Linked DNA regions of Homo sapiens: regions 1, 2, 3 and 4 are each linked to region 5. Evidence: promoter capture Hi-C in 16 types of primary human blood cells and fetal thymus (Javierre and others, 2016). All regions are on one chromosome and are shown on one strand. The core of a region is centred on a gene start or on the middle of the fragment in contact, and the rest is flanking DNA. Distances in the headings are between cores, read along the strand shown. Region 1 overlaps ACADL (acyl-CoA dehydrogenase long chain). Region 2 overlaps ACADL (acyl-CoA dehydrogenase long chain). Region 3 overlaps KANSL1L (KAT8 regulatory NSL complex subunit 1 like). Region 4 holds the start of LOC124907972 (a long non-coding RNA gene). Region 5 holds the start of KANSL1L-AS1 (KANSL1L antisense RNA 1).

Evidence for each region. The method cuts DNA at HindIII sites, captures the fragments that hold promoters and counts their contacts. A CHiCAGO score of 5 or more calls a contact.
Region 1: a contact is called between a fragment that was not itself captured here and the fragment with the promoter of KANSL1L-AS1 in region 5, in 16 of 17 cell types (naive CD4 T cells, neutrophils, naive CD8 T cells and 13 more). The highest score is 18.9, in naive CD4 T cells.
Region 2: a contact is called between a fragment that was not itself captured here and the fragment with the promoter of KANSL1L-AS1 in region 5, in 8 of 17 cell types (neutrophils, non-activated CD4 T cells, total CD4 T cells and 5 more). The highest score is 10.7, in neutrophils.
Region 3: a contact is called between a fragment that was not itself captured here and the fragment with the promoter of KANSL1L-AS1 in region 5, in 16 of 17 cell types (activated CD4 T cells, neutrophils, naive CD4 T cells and 13 more). The highest score is 12.4, in activated CD4 T cells.
Region 4: a contact is called between a fragment that was not itself captured here and the fragment with the promoter of KANSL1L-AS1 in region 5, in 4 of 17 cell types (neutrophils, monocytes, fetal thymus and 1 more). The highest score is 9.2, in neutrophils.

The regions. Positions count from the first base shown.
Region 1 is chr2:210,189,963-210,192,870 of GRCh38, forward strand. ACADL (acyl-CoA dehydrogenase long chain) reads right to left here. Exons shown (of 11, transcript NM_001608.4): 10 at 2,842-2,908. Among named protein-coding and RNA genes, the nearest start is that of KANSL1L, 20 kb to the left of the region's middle. The HindIII fragment of the contact is 2,314 bases long and covers 300-2,613 here.
Region 2 is chr2:210,210,711-210,213,410 of GRCh38, forward strand. The region is part of intron 4 of ACADL (acyl-CoA dehydrogenase long chain); the gene reads right to left. Among named protein-coding and RNA genes, the nearest start is that of ACADL, 13 kb to the right of the region's middle. The HindIII fragment of the contact is 4,262 bases long and covers 1-2,700 here.
Region 3 is chr2:210,158,507-210,161,417 of GRCh38, forward strand. All of the region lies in intron 1 of KANSL1L (KAT8 regulatory NSL complex subunit 1 like), which reads right to left. Among named protein-coding and RNA genes, the nearest start is that of KANSL1L, 11 kb to the right of the region's middle. The HindIII fragment of the contact is 3,036 bases long and covers 1-2,911 here.
Region 4 is chr2:210,226,967-210,229,758 of GRCh38, forward strand. LOC124907972 (a long non-coding RNA gene) reads left to right here and starts at 1,616. Exons shown (of 2, transcript XR_007088064.1): 1 at 1,616-2,123. The HindIII fragment of the contact is 2,176 bases long and covers 184-2,359 here.
Region 5 is chr2:210,028,672-210,031,371 of GRCh38, forward strand. KANSL1L-AS1 (KANSL1L antisense RNA 1) reads left to right here and starts at 1,251. Exons shown (of 5, transcript NR_110291.1): 1 at 1,251-1,327. It overlaps KANSL1L (KAT8 regulatory NSL complex subunit 1 like), which reads right to left. Exons shown (of 15, transcript NM_152519.4): 10 at 1,132-1,247; 11 at 174-298. The HindIII fragment of the contact is 1,781 bases long and covers 537-2,317 here.

The DNA.
Region 1 (2,908 bases), core at 207-2,706, 160 kb after region 5:
TTGGCCAAAGCACTTAGAGCTAGTTATTGAACTTTGGACTTTCCTGGTAGACACACTCAAAGGCTTTTCTTTTTTTTTTCTCAAGTATAATCTTGGTGTTTTGTTTTGTTTAAATTTGATTTTTAAGACAAATTAAATGTGCCAGCTCTCTAGGAACATACCACTTTTGGACTTATTCTTCTCCATATTCATCAGGGTTCCTTACAAAGAAATGGACACTCAGTAAATATTTACTGATATGATTTACGGTGTTACAAAGGAAATTTACAATCTCAGAACTTTCTGCTGAAAGCTTTAAAAGCTTGAGATATTTATGTTTTCAAACATTTTTTTCTGAACGGATTTTGCTATTCTCTACAAAATCTAGCACCTGCATTTTGAGCACTTACCTACTGTAAGCCTACTTCAGCAGTCCCAATGCGTTTAGATATATATATATATATTTGTAAATGGGCTAGGCTTCTTTTTACATTAAAGAAGTTCCAATGGAGTAAAGCAGAGATTAGTAGACCTTTTATATGTTACTAATTAAATTTAGTCATCAACTAAAATTAACAGTGAAAGGCGGCAGCAGAAATGTTTAACCACACTGCAGTGAAGTTCTACATCTAAGGCAGCTCTTCCCAGCATGGCAGAGAAATCTTAAAATGACAAGGCTTAAATCTCACTCCTCACGGGCTCGAGCCTAATGAGTAAGACTTATTAAATAAACCCACATGCTGAAGACCAGTTATTAAAGAAGACAAAAACAAAAAAACAAAATAAAAAAGCAGAGAAAACACCTCTTATCTATGAAACCAACCCTCAGCAACATATATATAAACTAATGTAGTTTAGTCTGGGGGATATAAGAAACACAATTAGAAGATTTTTCTTTTTTTATCAAATCAAAATCTATACATTACATCCACATATTGCCAATGTGTCTATGTGGCTTTTTTGTTGTTGTTGTTGTTGTTTGTTTTTTTTTTTTTGAGACAGTCTCACTCTGTCGCCCAGGCTGGAGTGCAGTGGCGCAATCTCGACTCACTGCAACCTCCGCCTCTCGGGTTAGAGCGATTCTCATGCCTCTGGAGTAGCTGGGACTACAGGCACCTGCAACCACGCCTAGCTAATTTTTTTGTATTTTTAGTAGAAATGGTGTTTCGCCATTTTGCCCAGGCTGGTCTTGAACTCTTGACCTCAGGTGATCCACCCGCTTTGGCATCCCAAAGTGCTGGGATTACAGGAGTGAGCCACCGCACGTGGCCTCAGTGGCTTTTTTGATATTAGGCGATATATGGGAAGAGAAATAGCAGTCTAGTTTAAAAATTGATACAATCTTTGAACTAACAAACTGGCCAAGAAAGGTGATTATTGTTTCTTAAAGAGAATATAAGTCTCTCAAACTGAAACCAGAGATTTCAAATAAGCCATCAATCTACATTGTTTGCTTGGTACCAACTTGAAGGAGTTGACTCCGAGAAAACAGAGACCAAGGCTTATGCCACGCTCTAATCTTAAGCCATTTAGATGATTGCCTTCTCCCCACCTAATAGGCCTTTCTTAAATGTGAACTAAACCACACAAACATTGAGCCACTACATAGCTTCTGTTCTTAATGTAATTTTAGTAAAATATTTTTTCTAAGGACTATAAGCATATTAAATGTTTCCAATTATACTTACCAAAAAGATAAATTTGAAATCATTAGGCTGCCAGTTTGAATGTAGGTTTCATAATTTTTCCCTTTAGATACTTTATATTAAGATAATCTTAAAACATTTTTAGAAGCCTATAGCATTCTTACTCTCAGATTCAGAACAAACTGAACTTTTCTGTATAAATAAAAAATTTCCTTGGGAAAATTTTCTAAACCAAAATCATTGCTAAATAATCAGAAAAATATATTTTCTAGGGTGATGAGGAAAAAAAGCTATGGGGAGACTTCTGAGGCAAAAGACTGTTAGGAGAAAAGGAAATTCTGGAGATTGAGGAAGAAATATGAATGGGGACACTGCCTATTTACAAATTAGTACTGCTTCAAACTGATAAGAATATTCATATATGATAAAAAGATATATTTGATTTCTTTCAATTTGAAGGAAATAAATCTATTTAGAAAGAAGATTTTTAATTTTTTTAGAACAAAACAAATAATCAGATATTTAAGATATGTGACAACTTAGATCCTTTTCATATGCCAGTTAATTTTTCTGTATTGCTTTTTTTTTTTTTTGGTTTTAAAAAAAAAGTAGTATTTGGCCGGATGCAGTGGCTCACGCCTGTAATCCCAGTACTTTGGGATGCCAAGGCAGGCAGATCACTTGAGGCCAGGGGTTTGAGACCAGCCTGGCCAACATGGCAAAACCACACCTCTACTAAAAATACAAAAAAATTAGCCAGGTGTCATGGCACGCACCTGTTAATTCCAGCTACTCTGGAGACTGAGGCACAAGAATTATTTGAACCTGGAAGGTGGAGGTTGCAGTGAACCCAGATCATGCCACTGTACTCCAACCTGGGTGACAGAGCGAGACTGTCTCAAAATAAAATAAAAAATAAAAAAATTAAAAAATTTTTGAAAATACTATTTGTCCTTCTACATAAGGATTCAAATAAAGCCAAGGATCAAGCTTTTGTTTATTGGTCTCTTTACTTTATTTAAGAAAAATAAAATCCTAGTAGGGAGTTGATAAAAAAAAAGCTGTTTCCATTTGCTTGAATACATTTTGTCTGTATTCAGCTGAAAAATTCAAAAGATTGCACACCTCCTTTCCCTCTACATTTGATGTACAAAGTAAAGAAATTTTCCTTTTTCTTCACATCATAAAGAAGAGTGTATCAGAAAACTATACTTACTTTGCAATTGGGTACTCCCACATGTATCCCCAACCTCCATGGAGCTGTACACAGTCGTAAGCTACAC
Region 2 (2,700 bases), core at 16-2,515, 180 kb after region 5:
TGAGGCTGGAGGACTGCTTGAGCCCGGGAGTTTGAGACCAGCCTGGGCAACAAAGCTAGACTCTATCTCTACAAAAAGTTAAAAAATTAGTTGGGTGTGGTGGCACACGCCTGTGGTCTCAGCTACTTGGGAGGCAGAAGTGAGAGGATCACTTGGGCCTGAGAGGTTGAAGCTGCAGTGAGGCATGATCAGGCCACTGCACTCTAGTCTGGGTAACACAGTGAGAATTTGTCTAAAAAAAAAAGAGTATGTCTCAAATGCCATTTTTTTCTAACAAACCTGCTCTAAGTGTAGAATAGATTATTTTTCTAAATATAAGAGAAACAAATATTAGTAAATAAAATATTAAGAACACAGCAGTCCAAAGGAGAAAAATAATTTTAAAAATAATTTTATCTCCTGGAATGAACATTTTAAAGGTATATCTTTCCAATATTTTTCTATGGACATAACTATACATATATATGCATTTTTATAAAACTGGAACCATATAATATGATTTTGATCTGTTAACAATATCTAATGACTTCTTATTAGCTGAATAGAGCATCATCATGGATTTACCATAATTTTAAGAAATAATCCCCTATTGTTAAAACACTTAGGTCCCAATTTTTATTAATATCCTATAATAAACAGCAGAGTGTATAAACAGTCCACATTACTTGTGTAATTTTTCCAATTTGTCTTCTTTATGTGGGTGATATGGTTTGGCTCTGTGTCCCTACCCAAATCTCATGTTCAATTATGATCTTCAGTGTTGGAGGAGGGGGCCTGGTGGGCTGATTGGATCATGGGGAAGGACTTTCCCCTTGCTGTTCTTGTGACAGTGAGTTACTTATCATGAGATTTGGTTGTTTAAAAGTGTGTATGTAGCACATCTCCCTTCTCTCTCTTCCTCCTTCTCTGGCCATGTAGGACATGACTGCTTCCCCTCTGCCTTCTGCCATGACTGTAAGTTTCCTGAGGCCTCCCAAGCCATGCTTCCTATACAGCTGGTGGAACTGTGAACCACTTAAACCTCTTTTCTTTATAAATTACCCAGTTTCAGGTATTTTTTATAGCAATGCAAAAACTGAGTAATAAATACAGTGGTGTTTTTATTTTATGCCCCTCAGCATTTTTTTTTTTTTTTTTGAGACCGAGTTTTTCTCTTGTTGCCCAGGCTGGAGTGCAATGGCACAATCTTGGTTCATTGCAACCTCTGCCTCCCCAGTTCAAGTGATTCTCCTGCCTCAGCCTCCCCAGTATCTGGGATTACAGGCGTATGCCACCATGCCTGGCTAAGTTTTTTGTATTATTAGTAGAGACATGGTTTCACCATGTTGGCCAGGCTGGTCTTGAACTCCTGACCTCAGTTGATCTGCACACCTTGGCCTCCGAAAGTGTTGGGATTACAGGCGTGAGCCACCGCACCTGGTTGCATTTTTTTTTTTTTTAAATCACTCTCTGTATTAGGCTGAATAATGACCCTAAAGATATCAGGTCCTATACCCTAGAGGCTGTTGTACCTTACATGGAAAAAGAATCTTGCAGATGTGATTAATTTAAGGATGTTGTGATAGAGAGACTATCATGAATTATCTGGATGAGCCCTAAATGCAAACATGAATGTCCTTATAAAAGAGAGGTAAAGAGAGATTTCATAGACAGAAGAGAAGGCAATGTGACCACAAAGGCAAAGACTGCAGTGACGAGGCAACAAGGCAAGGAACGCCAACAGCCACCAAGAAATAGAAGAGGAAAGGAGTGGATCCTCCCCTATAACCTCTGTAGAAAGTGTGGCCCTCCTGATACCTTGATTTGGGCCCAACAATACTGATTCTGGACTTTTAGCCTTCAGAACTGTAAGAGAATAAATTTCTGTGTCTCAAGCCACCAAGTCTCTGCTAATTTGTCACAGACGCCATAAAGCAACAAATATACTCTCTTAGAGCCATTTACTTTGAATTTCAATTATAATAAAAAGGAATTATCTTTCCCACCTACCACACTTATCTGACTCAAGTTTTTTGAGAACATGTGGTGTATCAAGATCATATTTATATGCTTGGTGCCTAGCATGCTGCTTTGTACATAACGGGCACTCAATAAACATTTGTTAAATTATATTATTAAAATGCCAAGTATACAGAAAAGAATTAATATAGCAGGCCTGAGACTGCTATCCTTAGAAAGGCCTGTTACAACATTGTCCGTGGCTAACATCTGAGAATCTGGATTTCAGGAGAGTTCCCACCATTCCCAGTACTCATAAGAGTGGCTTACTGTCTGAACTGTTTGCGCAAACAATTTGGCTTATGCTGAATACCTGCTTTCCTTTTAGGGATCTGAACTTTTGGTACATGCCAGGCAGAGGGTGCCTATATGACCGACCTCCACTATAAACAAGAGACTGTGCCCAGCCTGAATGCTATTGTATTCTAACATCATATTTTTCATCATAAGTATGTATAAAGTATCGGTAACTAATGTCTGTACATAGTTTATTAAAACAATTCTTCTATAGCTGGGTGTGGTGGCTCATGCCTGTAATCCCAGCACTTTGGGAGGCCAAGACAGGCGGATCACCTGAGGTCAGGAGTCCAAGACCAGCCTGGCCAACCTGCTGAATCCCTGTCTCTACTACAAATACAAAAATTAGCTGGGCATGGTGGCGGGCGCCTGTAATCCCAGTTACTTGGGAGGCTGAGGCAGGAG
Region 3 (2,911 bases), core at 244-2,743, 130 kb after region 5:
CACAGCAATTATGAAATAACACGTAATTTAAGCCACTAAATTTGGGGGTAATATACTACACAGTAATAAATAATGAATACACTTGGATATGAAGACTTTTAAGCTCTAGTCTATGAAAGTCCGGGACATATCATAGCTCTTATTCAGGGATTTCCATTAAGTCCTTCTGTATTCTATTCCCAAGTGTATCCTTATAAAAAAAAAAAAAAACCTAGCCTAAGTAAGTCTCTCTACTTTGCAACCAAAAGAAACTAATGAAAATAGCTATGTCTCCTATAAATAAAAAAGATTAAATTATGTTCAGTATAGTTTTAGCACAAAATATAAGTACATTTCTTCCAATTATTTAAATTATCTAGATATATAATCATTTTACATAACAATGTTTCCCAACTGAATATTCTAAACTACCACTTCTGACGACCTCCATATTATATAAACAACTACACTTATCACTAACACTTCTAAGCTCTATTAAAGGCTTGGATTTTTGAACAGTTTTGTTAACTACTGTATCCTCAACATGCAAATCTATTTGACATACAGAAGATGCGCAACAAATAACCTGGTGAGAAAATGAGTGGTTGCCAGTATATTTAAAATCCAAAGTTGTCCTTACGATAGCCTACAAAATTGGTATTATCAGGTTCCTGACTACTTTGCCTTCTACAACTCTTTCCATGAATTACTGCACTCCAGAAACACCGGCCTCTATGCTGTATTTGAAACACACCAAGCAAGTCTCTTGACACAGTGACTTTGTGTTTGCTATTCTCTCAGCCTGAAACAATTTTTTACAAATAAGATGGCTGGCTCCCTCACTTCATTTACTTCTGCTCTAAGGTCACCTCATCAGAGTCCTTCCCTGACCAATATATTTTAAATAGCTTCAGCCTCTTGGTTCATGACTCTCCATTCCCTTACACTGCTTTATTGCTCTTCATAGCACTATTGCCACCTGACATTATATTACATTCTAGGAAAGAATGTAGTTTAAGTGCAAGAACTCAATGATCTAATCTCCAGCACTAGAATAATGCCTGGCACACAGTAATTATCATGTATTTGTTGACTAAATTCATAAATTAATTGATCATGATATTTAAAGGCATTTCAGGATTTTGGTACTCACAAGTAGTAACAACACCTATTTCAATTACTATTTTTTAATTGTACAAAACAACAAAATATAGAAAGGATACTATGTTCAAGTATGGCTTATTTCATGAACACAAGACTGGTTCAACATTAAAGAAAACAACAGGCCGGGCGCGGTGGCTCACGCCTATAATCCCAGCACTTTGGGAGGCCGAGGCAGGCGGATCGAGACCATCCTGACTAAAAAGGTGAAACCCCGTCTCTACTAAAAATACAAAAAAAATAGCTGGGTGTGGCGGTGGGCACCTGTAGTCCCAGCTATTCGGGAGGCTGAGGCAGGAGAATGGTGTGAACCCGGGAGGTGGAGCTTGCAGTGAGCCGAGATCACGCCACTGCACTCCAGCCTGGGTGACAGAGCGAGACTCCGTCTCAAAAAAAAGAAAACAATAACTAAAATTCACCATATCAATAGACTAAAGAGAAACCATATGATGTCAATAAATGGAGAAAAAGCATTTGACAAAATTCAATATCCATTCATGAGAAAAACTCAGCAAATTAGGAAGGAGAGGGAATGTCTTTAATCTGATAAAAAGCATGTACACAAATGCCTATAGCTCACATCATAATTAATGGTGAAAGACTGAATGTTTCTGCCCTAAGACTGGGAATGAGGCAAGGTAGACATTTCTCACCACTCATACTCAATGTTGTACTGGAGGACCTAGTTAGTGCTGTAGAGCAAGAAAAAAAAAAGAAATAAAAAGCACAGATTAGAAAGTAAGTAAAACTGTCTCTATTCACAGATGACGTGATTTTCTACATAGAAAATCCCAAGGGATTGAACTCCTCGACTAATGAATTTAATAAGGCAGCAAACACAAGGTCAACCTACAAAACTCATTTATATTTCTATATGCTAGAAATAAAAAACTAGAAATAGAAATTTTTAAACAGTAATAATTCCAACACCTGCAAAAATGCTTTGGTATAAATCTAAACACAAGATGATGCACATGGTCTTTATACTGAAAAATACAAAACACCCATAAAAATATCAAGACCTAAATAGTGCATTACACTATGTTCACAGATAAAACTATTCAATATTGTTATGATGCTAATTCTCCTCAAACTGATTTATAAGTTTAGATACAAAATCTTGGCAGGACATTTTGCTGATATCTACAAGCTAATTCAAAGATTTATATGAAAGTTAAAGGAACCAGAATAGCCAAAACAATTTGGAAAAGAACAAAGTTGAAGGATTCACACAACTTACCAATTTCTAGTAGACAAGACAGTGTGGCATTAGCAAAAGGATGAACACATATATGGAAAAAAACAGAGCTCAGGAACAGACCCACGCACATACGGCCAATTTTTTTTTTTTTTTTTTTTTGAGACGGAGTTTCACTCTGTCGCCCAGGCTGGAGTGCAATGGCGTGATCTCGGCTCACCGCAACCTCCGCCTCCCAGGTTGAAGTGATTCTCCCGCCTCAGCCTCCCAAGTAGCTGGGATTACAGGTACCCGCCATCATGCCCGGCTAATTTTTGTATTTTTGTAGAGATGGGGTTTCACCATGTTGGCCAGGCTGGTCTTAAACTCCTGACCTCAGGTGATCTGCCTACCTCAGCCTCCCAAAGTGCTAGGATTACAGGGGTGAGCCACTGCGCCTGGCCTGATTATTTTGACAAAGATAGCAAGGCAATTAAATGTAGAAACCTTGTTTCTTAAATCATATCATTCTAAACTAATTGGACATCCATAGGGAAAAAAAAATGAAACTGAATACGTATTTCATACCTTATA
Region 4 (2,792 bases), core at 22-2,521, 200 kb after region 5:
TGGCATCTGTTAAATGTGTCTGAAATATTTTCTTTTCCCTTATAGAGGACAATGGTCTCAAAACTAGTTACTGTTTTATGTTTTGGAACATTTTCTTTAAAAAAATAAATAGCAATTTAAGTATCTGTAACCAACAATTTTGACAGTAAACTTTATTGTCAGGATTAAGAATGGATTTGTTTAAGCTTCCAACTTCAAACCCTAATCTGCTTCTAAATTGCTTCTCTATGAGCCATACCTATAATATAATATGACCAAAATATTAATCATACACATTTATAAGGAAAAACTGCTCAAAGTAAAAGAAAAGTTATAAAATTTATCTTCTAGGGCTCTCCTTTTTTTTTTTTTTATAGTCATTGTATACAGAGCTCATTAGAAAAAGTATTTATTTATTTCCCCTGGTGCAAAGCAAAACTTATCTAATCAAATATAGAAGTGTTGCATAAGTTTTAGTGCATTACAGTCTTAGACTAAAGAAATCTAAGCATCTGTAATTCTGTAATATAGATCTTGGACAATGTCACAAGGATGATTGCTAAACCATTTTGCTTGCATAATACAGAATTATTCCTCTTCATAGCTGATTTGTATTTAGGGTAAGATAAGCCTTCATGGGAAGATTTTGCTGGCAATACATGCCCTTTGCCATAGTAATTCCACCTGGTCTCCATTTAACAATCTTTTAAGGCCAGACACGGTGGCTCACTCCTGTAATCCCAATACTTTGGGAGGCCAAAGCAGGTGGATTGCTTGAGTCCAGAAGTTCTAGGCCAGGCTCTGGGAAACATGGCAAAACCCTATATCTACCAAAAATTAGCCAGGCTTGGTGGCCTATGCCTGCAGTCCCCGCTACTCAGGAGGCTGAGGTGCAAAGATCACCTGAGCCCAGGAGGTCAAGGCTGCTGTGAGCCGAGATTGCGCCATTGCAGTCCAGCCTGGGTGACAGAGTGAGACCCTGTCTCAGAAACAAACAAACAGAAAAAAACAAAACACAACACTTTTAGCTTTATTTGAGTACATAGGTTTAACATTATTTCCATAGAAACCTGAATGTATTTGCTTAAACTCCACATGAAACTGAAAGTTATTACTTCTGTAAAGTACATTCCTTGGGTGATAGGTGTCTTTATCAAAGGGAAAATATTTAGTCAAATTAATCTATAATTTAATGTTAATATTGTTGAGTGTCAGCTTATGAACTAAAACTATGTGGGCCATGAATCACATTTTTAATTCAAGAGCTTTATTTATTTTCTTTCAAAACTAGCCATCCTGTGCTTATCTCAATTTGCTGCAAACTTCTTCAACTTCCCATCTCCTCTCTCAAATATATCTACATGCCCATCCTTCCTTTCTTTCAATCAAGAGAAAGAAGCATCTGCTCTGCGCAACCTCCACCTCCTGGGTTCAAGAGATTCTTCTGCCACAACCTCTGGCGTAGCTGGGATTACAGGCATGCGCCACCACGCCCAGCTAATTTTGTATTTTTAGTAGACACTGGGTTTCTCCATGTTGGTCAGGCTGGTCTTGAACTCCCGACCTCGGGTGATCCGCCCACCTAGGTCTCCCAAAGTGCTGGGATTGCTGGTGTGAGCCACTGCGCCTGGCCAACTCCACCTTTTAATACCCTTGATGAGACGGGACAGTGCTCTTGACCCCCTTTGCAGGCAGGAACTGGAGTGGCTCGTTTCATTCAACCCATCGCTGGCCACTCCTTGTGGGAGAGAGTATGCAAGCAACCAAGTGTGGAAACTTGAGTGAACTGAATGCTGGAATCCGCTGGGCATTCCTCTCTGGTGGGAGCAGGCTCCGTGCGAACCCTGTAGTGGTGTTCAAGTGTATTCAACCAATGCTCTTTCAGCTCTGCATCCAGGATGGCCAAGTGCCAACCAGCTTAGTGGAGGGTCAGGGTGGCAGCCCCTGCCCTCTCGGCACCTGGGTTCTTGCCCAGCATCCAGGAAGAATCAGGTCACATGAACTGTTTGAAAGGTGATGAATATGGAAGACTTTATTGAGCGGTGCCGGCTCTCAGTGGAAAGGGAAACTGGAAAGGGGATGGAAAGATGATCACTCCCTGAAGCCCAGCCATCTTCAGCTGGTCCCCTCTCTGAAGCCACAAGGTCTGAAGTTAGTCATGTCTACCTGTAGTCTCTGACACTCAGTTGTTTCTCTATTTGCTCCTCAGCCACTTGTATTATTGACGCTCAGCCACTTATATCACTGATGCTCAGCTGCTTGTGTTGCCATGCCAGCTGAAGTCTTTCATGGGCATAAGATAGAGGCAGGGGCAAGCCAAAAAGGCAACATTTGGGCAGAAAAACAGGGTCAGTTGTCTTCACTTAGGGTTGAGGTTTCAAGCTTAAGGGTGGGGTTTACCCAGGAGTCCAGCCCTTCTGTATCATTGGGAGTTAGGGTTTCTCAACATATGAATTTTCAGGGGGACATAAACATTCAGTTCATTGCAATAATCCATGTTTTCTGCTGATTTAAAATATGAACTCTATCATTTGCATTCCCTTATGTATTTAGGTCTATTTGTAGACTTTTCTATTTCACTCATCTGCTTGTCCGTTAATTCATTCAACAAGTATTTATTGAAAGCCTTATACATGCCTACATGCCAGGCGATCTTCCAGATATTATAAACAGAAATGAACAAAGCCCCCCCTTTTTTCTAGACGGAGTTTCGCTCTTTCGCTCAGGCTGGAGTGAAGTGGCACCATCTTGGCTCACTGCAACCACCACCCTCCCGGTTGAAGCGATTCTCCATTGCCTCAGCCTCCCAAGTA
Region 5 (2,700 bases), core at 1-2,500:
GATACTATATAACACTTAAGGCACGAGTAATTTTTTTTTCACCGTTTCCCCTCCATGGCTATGAAGGAACTGGGAGAAGGATGCTCCTTTCATTAATTAAAATTCTTCACTTTGAAAATTTAAGTTTATTAGGGAAGGAAGGAAGAAAAATATGAAGATGTAAGTATACATACCTTGGAGTAAGTATTTCCTTATATTGGAGTTTCTCTAATTTAGCTGGGGCTACTAATGACATGGGAATCACAATGTTATCTATGTCATAAGAGCTCTCACTTCTCAATCTCCGTCGTGCAGTATTCTGCAAAACAGGATTACAGTAGATTTACAGTACTGTCTAGTTACTTGTAATGATACCCTCCTTTCATCAGTTATGTAAATATGGCAGTACACGTTACATAATTTTTGTAAATACATTGTTATAAAGTCTGACTAAAAAATGTTAAGAAAACCAAAAAATAAAACATTTTTCTATCTTTTGTAAATCAGAACAATCTCTTGGTAGATGTGTAATGTGTATTTATGTGTGCAAGCATACAAGCTTATTTTTAAGACCACAAAAAATAGGTCTTAAATGCAAAACTCTTTATCAGAAAAGACCAACATACATCACCCTAAATGTCAATGAAAATGATCAGTAACCACTTTTTATTAGGAAAGGCAGTGAAACATTTTTGGTCAGCCCTTCAGTATACTCTTCATTTATGCATTCCTGGTTCCTGAGTTTCGGAATTCATTTCTAAACCCTCCCACCTTTTGACCTCTCTATTCCCTGGCCAGATAACAAAAAAACAAACAAACAAACAAAAAACAGGACAAGAACAAGAAAGTCCTGAATTCTCATTAGTAAGACTTTATTTAGCTTAATATGTTAAGGAATAGAGATGATCATGATAATGTTTAAATTTTTAACACATAAAAAGAAGCTATAACCAAATATTAATGAACTTTTAGCTTCATAGTTAAAAATAAGTTGTATGAATCAAATATATTGTTTTCTAACAAGATAGTTATAAATGTCTGTTAATATGTGCTAGTAAGGCTGTTATAGATTAGCAAAATATAAATTATTTTCAAAATCAGGTGTTTTTATTTTTAAAGCTATTTTAGAGTTCAACATATGGAAAAACCTACTCGTGATGAATTCTGGATTCTTGATAAAACGTTGACATTGGAAACAGCAGTAAAATTGCTATGGGATCCTGATTCTGTGTGTTGAAAATCAGATTCTTCAAGTTTAGTTCTTTCTCCTGCCATGGAAAGAACCATTGAATGTTACACATTAAACAAGTCTAATATCATTAGAATTACTTTCCTAATTAGATGACAGGTGATTGATTCCTTGTTTTGTGTGTGTGTGTTTAAATTCGTGTATTAGAAAACAAAAAAGGAAATGAAAAAAGAGGAGCCTTACTTGCAGTCATGCCACAAGTTATTTCCATTTTCTGGGGCTTTGGCAGTTTTTATCGAATATATTTCTTATTGTTCCCTGAATAATCCCTCATCTCATCCCTTTATTCTTGTTTCCTGTGACTCCTATTCATAGTTGAACCACCAGAACTATCTTAATTTTCTTATCTAATCTCATTTTTCATATCTGACTTTTTATCCTAATTTATGTGAGGTATCTGTCCTTGGTCTTCTGAACACTCTTAATTTTTTGAAAAAATTCTGCTATTATAAGTACATGTTTCCGAAAGTACTTGTTCTCTGGTACTCTTTTTTTAAAACAGCATCCTGTTCTTGTTTCATAGATGAAATTTCTCATATCTCTCAGGATATTGATTAGAAGTTTACTTCTGTTAGTATTTTCTGTATATCTTCCAAGTTCTTTTTTTTTTTTTTTCCTGTTTTGGTTCCCAGTTACTGTGTGTGTGTGTGTGTGTAGTAAATATATATATGTATGCGTTTACTTACTGCCCTTATTTTAGTACAAGTGTTTTAAAATGAGAATATTTCCTGCATAATATAAAATCTAATACCCAGTCCATATTTAAATATCTCCATTTGTTAAAAAAAAGTCCTTTATAGCTAGTTTCTTCAGATAAGGATCTATATATAAAAATTGGCCATTGTCTCCTAGGTTTCTTATAGTCTAGAATAAATCATTTTTCATTACATTGACTTTTGACAGGCTGGACCAGATGTCCTACCCTTTTGGAATTGTCTAGTTATTTATTTGTAGTATGACATTTCTTTATTTTATTCCTGTATGTACATCAAACTTGAAGTTAGATCTAAAGTGTCAGTCAATTTAAGTGAAACATTTTATATCTTAGGTAATGTATACTTCATGTTGCATCTTATTAGATGTTTTTAAAGCTTTATATATATATATAAGTTGAATCTTGTTGACTTTCTCAAAATCCTGAGGAATCTGCAGTGCATCAACATCTCCACAGTAGGTACCATAAATGGTTAACAGTTTCTGTAAGGCAACTTTGCACTAGCCTATTTTGAGCATAGAACACAACTTTGAAGATTAAATCCCATCCAGGGACTGATTGGTAGAAGACAACTAGTCAGGGAACATAGGAGGGAAATACTTAATTGCCATAAAGTGGGTAGATACCAGTCCACAAATAATTCTAAATTAACTACGAATATGCTGTTTCATGTTTGTAGACTCATAGATGTTTTGTGTTATTAGTGGCTGTTCTGGATTATAAACTCCCATGAGAGGTTATTTTAAAATCAGAATTT